Regions from separate parts of the Homo sapiens genome. Here all the other regions are linked to region 3. Evidence: promoter capture Hi-C in 16 types of primary human blood cells and fetal thymus (Javierre and others, 2016). All regions are on one chromosome and are shown on one strand. Each heading gives the region's core, a stretch centred on a gene start or on the middle of the fragment in contact. The rest is flanking DNA. Distances are from core to core; before and after follow the strand shown. Region 1 holds the start of LOC107985304 (a long non-coding RNA gene). Region 2 holds the start of LINC00665 (long intergenic non-protein coding RNA 665). Region 3 holds the start of ZNF527 (zinc finger protein 527).

Evidence for each region. The method cuts DNA at HindIII sites, captures the fragments that hold promoters and counts their contacts. A CHiCAGO score of 5 or more calls a contact.
Region 1: a contact is called between a fragment that was not itself captured here and the fragment with the promoter of ZNF527 in region 3, in 1 of 17 cell types (M2 macrophages). The highest score is 5.1, in M2 macrophages.
Region 2: a contact is called between the fragment with the promoter of LINC00665 here and the fragment with the promoter of ZNF527 in region 3, in 8 of 17 cell types (fetal thymus, total B cells, naive B cells and 5 more). The highest score is 13.7, in fetal thymus.

What each region holds. Positions count from the first base shown.
Region 1 is chr19:36,235,522-36,238,221 of GRCh38, forward strand. ZNF146 (zinc finger protein 146) reads left to right here. Exons shown (of 4, transcript NM_007145.3): 4 at 138-2,700. The coding sequence starts at 920. The coding sequence ends at 1,798. It overlaps LOC107985304 (a long non-coding RNA gene), which reads right to left and starts at 231. Exons shown (of 2, transcript XR_001753933.3): 1 at 63-231. It also overlaps a transcript of ZNF565 not described here. RefSeq lists a silencer at 853-1,053. The HindIII fragment of the contact is 420 bases long and covers 1,240-1,659 here.
Region 2 is chr19:36,330,276-36,333,046 of GRCh38, forward strand. LINC00665 (long intergenic non-protein coding RNA 665) reads right to left here and starts at 1,443. Exons shown (of 6, transcript NR_038279.1): 1 at 1,172-1,443; 2 at 1-217. The HindIII fragment of the contact is 13,687 bases long and covers 1-1,680 here.
Region 3 is chr19:37,369,827-37,372,726 of GRCh38, forward strand. It overlaps ZNF527 (zinc finger protein 527), which reads left to right and starts at 1,273. Exons shown (of 5, transcript NM_032453.2): 1 at 1,273-1,400. RefSeq lists enhancers at 643-782, 803-852, 1,023-1,332 and a silencer at 1,363-1,672. The HindIII fragment of the contact is 7,295 bases long and covers 1-2,900 here.

The DNA of each region.
Region 1 (2,700 bases), core at 200-2,699, 1.1 Mb before region 3:
TAGTAATGGGAAAATTAACAAATAAAAGTGATAGTAATATAAAGGTAAAATGAAGGGCTTACCATATGGCAGCCATGGTTCTGGGCACTTTATGAATTTAACTCCTTTGTGCTATGGTTCTTTGTACTCCATTTTAGAAGAAGCCTGAGAAGATGATGCACAGATAGAGAGGCACCAGGACTTGAGAGGCACCAGGACTTGGGAGGCATGTTGATCCATCTCCAGGAAAGACTGAGAAAAAGAGCGTTGAATATAAGAAAAAATACTTCCTCTGTTCTCAGATCGTATTTGTTTTAAGGCCACACCTTTTTGAAGTTTTCAGTTTGAAACACAACCTGGACTGAAATCATGAGGGAGGTTGTGTAGGAAAGAATCATCAAGGGACTTAGTTGGGAGCTTCTCTACCACAGCTTACTCCTTATGGTATTAACCCCCTTTAAGTGTAAATGTCTTTGGTTTAAAACGTTTGTACCTCATCTGTTACCAGAGTGTTCATACTGGAGAGAAACCCTATGAATTTACTGAATGTGGGGGAACTGTTACTCATATGTTGCATTTCGTCGAACGTGCAAGTCATGCTGAAGAGAAACCCTGTGCTTCTAAGGAGTATTGACAAGCCCTTAGCTAGATGACAATCTCATTGAGAAGCAGAAAATTCATGCTGGAGAGAAACTAGTGAAGGTAGCAATACTTCATTGAATATTAGAAAATTTTTCTAGAGAGAAAGCATTGAATATACTGAGTATGATAACATTTCCTCTCAAACCTTATCCCTTACTCTGCATTTGGGAGATCATACACAGAGAAGCCTTATAAATGTAAGAGATGTGGAAATATCTTCAGCCAAAAGTAAATCCTCACTCATCAAGAAATTTTTACTGGAGAGAAACCTTGTGAATGTGGGAAAGCTTCCATTCAGATGTCACACCTCAGCCAGCAGAGAATTTACAGTGGGGAAAACCCCTTTGCCTGTAAGGTATGTGGAAAAGTCTTCAGCCACAAATCAAACCTCACTGAGCATGAGCATTTTCACACGAGAGAGAAACCTTTTGAATGTAACGAGTGTGGAAAAGCCTTTAGCCAAAAGCAGTATGTCATTAAACATCAGAACACCCATACTGGCGAGAAGCTTTTCGAATGTAATGAATGTGGAAAATCATTTAGCCAGAAGGAAAACCTCCTTACGCACCAGAAAATTCACACTGGAGAAAAACCTTTTGAGTGTAAAGATTGCGGGAAAGCTTTCATTCAGAAGTCAAACCTCATCAGACACCAGAGAACTCACACAGGAGAGAAGCCCTTTGTATGTAAGGAGTGTGGAAAAACCTTCAGTGGCAAATCCAACCTTACTGAGCATGAGAAAATCCATATTGGAGAGAAGCCTTTTAAATGTAGTGAATGTGGAACAGCCTTTGGCCAGAAGAAGTACCTCATAAAACATCAGAACATTCACACTGGAGAGAAACCCTATGAATGTAACGAATGTGGAAAAGCCTTCTCTCAGCGAACATCACTTATTGTACATGTGAGGATTCATTCAGGTGATAAACCTTACGAATGCAATGTTTGTGGAAAAGCCTTCTCTCAGAGCTCATCTCTCACTGTGCATGTGAGAAGCCATACAGGGGAGAAGCCCTATGGTTGTAATGAATGTGGGAAAGCTTTCTCTCAGTTCTCAACCCTTGCTCTGCATTTGAGAATACACACAGGTAAGAAGCCTTATCAGTGCAGTGAATGTGGGAAAGCTTTCAGCCAGAAGTCACACCACATTAGACACCAGAAAATTCATACTCACTAAAAACCCCATGAAAGCCTTGAAAGTGGGAAAGCTTTCATTAGAAATTTGCACCTCATCATGCCCCAGAAATAATCCTTCTGAAGCAAAGCACCACGAATGAGGTTAACTTTAACAAGTACTAAAAACTTAAGGGACACCAGAAAATTTGTACTGAAGAGAAAGACATGCATATGATTAAAACCCTGTGTCCAACAGAGAAACCTGCAGCAGAGATAATGGTGAAAGTTTAGGCACATTTTCACTAAAAGTGGGAACAGAAAATGGAGGCCTGTTTTTTATTGCTACCACCATAGATCTGGAGATCTTCGCCAGTAACAAGAAAAATTAAGTTGTAAATATTGGAAAGGAACAGACAAAAATAGATGACATGGTCATCTACAACTAATATTAAGACTCCTGTGGTATTGATTGAGCAGAGCAGAAGAGATTTCAAAAAAAGACCTATGCATTTATTAGAATTTGGAATATGATACAAGTGGCATCAGGAAATGAGGAAATAATGGAACTATTTTTTTTAAGTGGAGGTAGTTTGTTCTCCAAGGGGGAAAAATAGACCATGAACTATACACAAAAGTGAATCCAGAGATTAAAAACAGAAATATGGAAAAGCTATGTACTAAAATGCATATGACCTTGGGAATAGGGAAACATTCCTTGGAACAATTTGAGAAATACTTAGCGGTTCTACTTATGAGTATGAATGCTCAGGAAATACGCACTAGGATATTTACTGTGGCTTGATTTGTAGTAGCCAAAAATTAGAAACAACTGAGAAAGCCCATCACGAACAATATGGGAAATTCTTATGTAATACTATATATCTGTAAAATGCAACAAATGAAATCCACATGTATTAACAGAAAGATCCCAGAATTGTTGAGGGGGGATCAAGTTGCAGAATG
Region 2 (2,771 bases), core at 193-2,692, 1.0 Mb before region 3:
GGACTCAGAGGTGGAATTTTTGTGGGCACCCACATGGTAGTCGATCCGCTGTCCTCCGGAAGACGGTCACCCTTTGGGGACCTGGAAATTTTTTTTTCAGGTGGCACTCCCCCCTACAAGCTGGCTGTCCTTCCGGGGGAGCACACAGCGGGCCCGGCTCTCGCCCGGTGACGTTTCTCCCGGTGACGTTTCTCGCTGGGGCCTCCAAATGTCGTACCTGAGCGAGTTAGAGAAAACGCCACACTTTGAGACAAATTAAAAGTCCATTTATTTAGCTGGCCGCCAAGAGATGGCTAATGCTCAAAATTCTCTCCGCTCTGAAGAAGGGGCTAGATCTTCTTTTATACTTTGGTTTAGAAAGGGGAGGGGAGGTCTAGTTAAAACAATTTTACAGAAATAAAGTAAGCAAAAAAGTTAAAAGGATAAATGGTTACAGGAAAGTTAATAGTTCCAGGTGCAGGGGCTTTAAGATTATTACAAGGTGATAGACGCGGGGCTTTTGGGCATAATCAATCGGATGAATTCCTCGGAACTGCGGATATAGCTTGCCACAGTATCTTAACAGTTAATTGCATTCTTGGATGTGCTGGGAGTCAGCTTGCACAAGTTAAGTCCTTGAGGAAGGGGCTGCCAGTGAAAGAGCCAAGATGGAGTCCATCTGGCGCTCTTAGCTAAGGGAGAGTCAATTCAGGTGGAAACAAGGCTAGGTGATTTAAGGAAAGGGAGAGTCTAAAAACAGGGTTAGTAAAAACCAGGTTGGGCATTACACTACTAAGATATCAAAACCAGGAACTTACTTCCTTTAAAACAATTCCAAACTAACTCGCTGTGCCTTACACAGAAATTTCCCCCAAGAAATATGGTTTTATAAAGCCTGAGAAGTTGTTGCTATTAGGACAAACACCAAAACTAAAAATTGGTTTAATTAGCAACAACAAAATTCCATTTTAACTGGCTGTCCTTATCAGAGACAGTCCACTAAATAATACAACTGGCAAAAAGTGAGATTTTGTAAAGGTTGGGGTGCTTTATTATAAACATAACATAAACCAGGAATGTATTTTAATAAACCTCAACCTGCGGGTCACTCCCTCCCAGGCGTGCAACAAAACACCTGCCTAGAAATCAAAAGGCGTTTTACCCGAGTGGGCTGAAAAAGCCCCGTTTTTACCTTTAATCTGGAGACAATACGGGTCAGAGGTCAGGAAACTACATCAGCGCCAGTGCGAGCGCCCACGAGTCCGGTGGACGGATGAGAAACGGCCGGGGGGCAGCCTGAGTCCCAGTTCCCGCCGTGGCAATGGCCAATTTCCCACCCGTGGACGCAAAAGGCCAGGACTCCACGCTGCTGACCCTCCAGCGTCCCATGTCCGGCAGGCACGTGGCCGAATAGCCCAAGACTGAGGACTCACACTTCCCACTTTGCACCTGGAGGCCACCTGCAGACCAACCTTGCGCCAGGCTTCCGGAAATGGGAGGGCGGGCTTCCGGAAACGGCGGCCAATGGGAAACGTGATCAGATGTTACTAGGCAGACAGTCCGTTTCCAGGCAACACAGAAGAAAGGAACGCGCTCAGTCAGCCTCAAATAGACGGAGATTTCAGCCAATGGATGTGCAGGTTCCCTCCACATTAGCCAATAAGAAGTGCTTGGGGCCTACCTGCCTACAAGCACAGCAAAAGCTTTCCTGCGCATTTTTGCGCTGGAATGGCTACCTGCCGCGCCAAATCAAAATTTACAATCACCCTTGGTGCTGTTTCCTGCACTTTCTTGGAGATTTGCACCAGGCGCTGGAGACCCTCCCACCTGGCCCATGCCTGCCACCCGGTGAACACCAAGACCCAACCTTCTGCACCACCAGTCTTGTTGTCAGCGAACAGGCTAGTAAATTATTGAAGGGGTGGCCTGCCCCTCCACACCTGTGGGTATTTCTCGTCAGGTGGAACGAGAGACTGAGAAAAGAAAGAGACACAGAGACAAAGTATAGAGAAAGAAAAGTGAGCCCAAGGGACCGGCGCTCAGCACACGGAGGACCTACAGGGACACTGGTCTCTGAGTTCCCTCAGTATTTATTGATCATTATCTCTACCATCTCGGAGAGGGGGATGTGGCAGGCCAATAGGGTAATAGTGGGGAGAGGGTCAGCAGGAAAACGTGAACAAAGGTCTCTGTGTCATAAATAAGTTTAAGGAAAGGTGCTGTGCCTTGATGTGCACTTATACAAACATCTCGGTGCATTAAAGAGCAGTATTGCCGCCAGCGTGTCTCACCTCCAGCCCTAAGGATGTTTTCTCCTATCTCAGTAAGTAGAACATACAATCGGGTTTTACACCAAGACATTCTATTGCCCAGGGACGAGCAGGAGACAGATGCCTTCCTCTTACCTCAACTGCAAAGAGGCCTTCCTCTTTTACTAATCCTCCTCAGCACAGACCCTTTTCGGGTGTCGGGCTGGGGGATGTCGGGCTGGGGGACAGTCAGGTCTTACCCTTCCCATGAGGCCATATCTCAGGCTATCACATGGGGAGAAATCTTGGACAATACCTGGCTTTCCTAGACAGAGGTCCCTGCGGCCTTCCGCAGTGTATTGTGTCCCTGGGTACTTGAGATTAGAGAATGGTGATGACTTTTAACAAGCATATTATCTTCAAGCACTTTTTTAACAAAGCATAGCCCTAAATCCATTGAACCTTGAGTCAACACAGCACATGTCTCTGTGAGCACAGGGTTGGGGCTAGGGTTACAGATTAACAGCATCTCAAGGCAGAAGA
Region 3 (2,900 bases), core at 23-2,522:
TTGACATGTAGAGACCTGGGTCAACAGTACAGATGGAGGTCCCCAGCCAGTCCCCTTCTGTTCCCACTGCCATCCTTGTCCCACATCGTAAGAGGTCTTCTATTCCCACATGTGGACACTCCAGCTTGCATATCTAAGCTCTGTCTAGCCTTACCAAATTGCTCTCATTTGGCCACATTTTGTGGATAGGCAGCACATTCCACCTTTGGAAGACAGATCAAGGGAAGGGTCTTTGGACACAGAGGAGATACAGGCTCTGGAAGCAGGCTGGAGTCCATTTGAACAGGAAATCCTGGGGATTTGGATACCCAGAGCATGGTCTGAAAGAAGGTTGTGAGATCTTTGCAGGCATGTTTCTGCCTATGGACTTTCACCAGGAAGGAAACTGCTTGACTAGAGGAGGGCCAAAGTGTGGCCTTTTGTATGTTTAATAATATTAAAATGTTAAATATATTATTTTGACCAATTGAGAAATAATAATAATAATAAAATAGGCCGGGTGCGATGGCTCATGCCTGTAACCCCAGCACTTGGGGAGGCCGAGGCAGGTGGATCACAAGTTCAGGAGATGAAGACCATCCTGGCCAACATGGTGAAACCCCATCCCTACTAAAAATACAAAAATTAGCTGGGCGTGGTGGCAGGTGCCTGTAATCCCAGCTCCTCAGGAGGCTGAGGCAAGAGAATCGCTTGAACCCGGGAGGCGGAGGTTGCAGTGAGCGCCGAGATTGCCTCAATAAAAGATACCACAGACCCCGCCCATGGCAGGAGATGGGGGTGAAGGAACAGTAAGACCAGGAGACAGTCAGATACACATCGGATCAGTGGTATCCTCACAGTAACAGAAACGGTCACCCCCAATGTCAGCCACAGTCTCTTTCATCCACAATCACTTTCACATTCAGCTACCCACAATCACGGGACGTGATTTAAAATACAGAAGCTCCCTGCACTGACAAAATCCGCCGCTCCTTTCGTCGGCAAGCATAAAGGTGTGCAGCAACAGTCACACACGAACCACCACACCCAAGCATTCAACCAGTCAGCCCCGCGCGCAGCCTGGCCGCTTTCCCCAACACAGCAGCTCAAGGTCACTGGAGAGCCTACGACCGCACACAGCCCTCTCCGGTACCTGCCCCCGTGGCGCAGGCGCGCAGTGGAGGGGGCCGCGGGGTTCTCTGGGAGATGTAGTTCAACGATGACGGCCGTGGCGCAAAGCGTTCTGGGGCTCGTGGTTCGCGGGGTCCATGGGGAACGCGGTGTCGCTGGTTCAGATCTCGCAGAGCTCAGAGTCCTGCATGCCTCAGTCCTCGCCTCGCTCCTCCTCGCGGAGGATTCTGGGAGGTGACGTCGCGGGTCTCGGTCGCGGGGCCCGTTTGCAGAGCCCGCGGCGCCGGGAGGTGAGTGGGGCCGGGCCCCGGGCGGGAGCGGGAAGTCAAGGGCGGGCTCCGGGTGGCCCGGCCGCGCCAGGGATGGGAACCCGGCAGGAGTCGCTGGGGAGGCCGTGTGTGTTTCACTGTATTACCAACTATGTGACAGGCTGCGGGTGTGACAGAATGTGATCTTGTGTCACTGTGTGTGTGTGTTTGTGCGCGTGCGCCCGCTTGTGTGTGACTGTAACCATCTGTGTCTGGGGGTGAAACTGTGAATATGTGTGTTTGTGTGTGACTGTCTCTGCAGGTGTAGCTGTGTATGTGTTTATGAGAGACTGGGGTGTGACATTGTGTGTTTGTGTAAATGCATGTGTGTGGTTATGTGACCACCTGTTTCTGCGGATACAATTGCGTTTGAATGTGTGTGACAGCAAGTGTGATTGTGCGACTATGACCATCTGTCTCCGCAGGTATAGTTTTGTATCAGTAATTGTGACAAGATGTGTGACTTCTGTGGTATGCTACTTTGTGTGTGATTGTGTGTGATTGTTTATCTCTGTTGGTGTAGTTGTATGTTACCATCTATCTTTGTGCTTATGTGGCTGTGTATTGTGTGAGATTATGGGTGTGTTTGTGTGACTCTATACATTTGTGATTGGGTGAGAATTTGTGTGTATATATGAGATTGTGGGATTGATGTATGAAGCACAGAAATATTAGAATTACCCAAGTTCACACAGTTAACAAGTGACAGCACCAGAACTCAAACCCAAGCAGTTTAGCTCTAGAGGTCTCGCTTTTTTTTTTTTTTTTCTCTTGAGATGGAGTCTCACTCTATTGCCCAGGCTGGAGTGCAATGATGCGATCTCGGCTCACTGCAACCTCCGCCTCCCAGGTTCAAGTGATTCTCCTGCCTCAGCCTCCCAAGTAGCTGGGATTACAGGCGCGCACCACCACGCCCAGCTAGTTTTTGTATTTTTAGTAGAGACGAGGTTTCACCATGTTTGGCCAGGCTGGTCTCCAACTCCTGACCTCATGATCCGCCCACCAGAGCCTCCCACAGTGCTGGGATTACAGGCGTGAGGCGCTGCGCCCTGCTGCAGTTTTTATGGACAATTTCAAGCTGCACTACACTAAGGAAATAACTGCTAGGGACTGAGTTGCCTAGTGCAAAGTAGTCCAGAATTAGGGGGTGAAATTAGGGGGTGATGTATACTGAATTCTAGGTCAACCACAGTTGTCCCTTTCTTTTCTTTTCTTTTCTTTTCTTTTTTTTTTTTTTTTTTTTTTTGAGACAGAGTCTTGCTCTGTCCTGTAGGCTAGAGTGCAGTGGTGCAATCTCGGCTCACAGCACCCTCTACCTCCTGGGTTCAATCAAGCCTCCCACCTCAGCCTCCCAAGTAGCTGGGACTACAGACACATGCCACCACGCCCAACTAATTCTTGTACTTTTTGAGGAGATGGGGTTTTGCCATGTTGCCCAGGCTGGTCTTGAATTCCTAGTCTCAAGTGATTTGCCCACCTTGA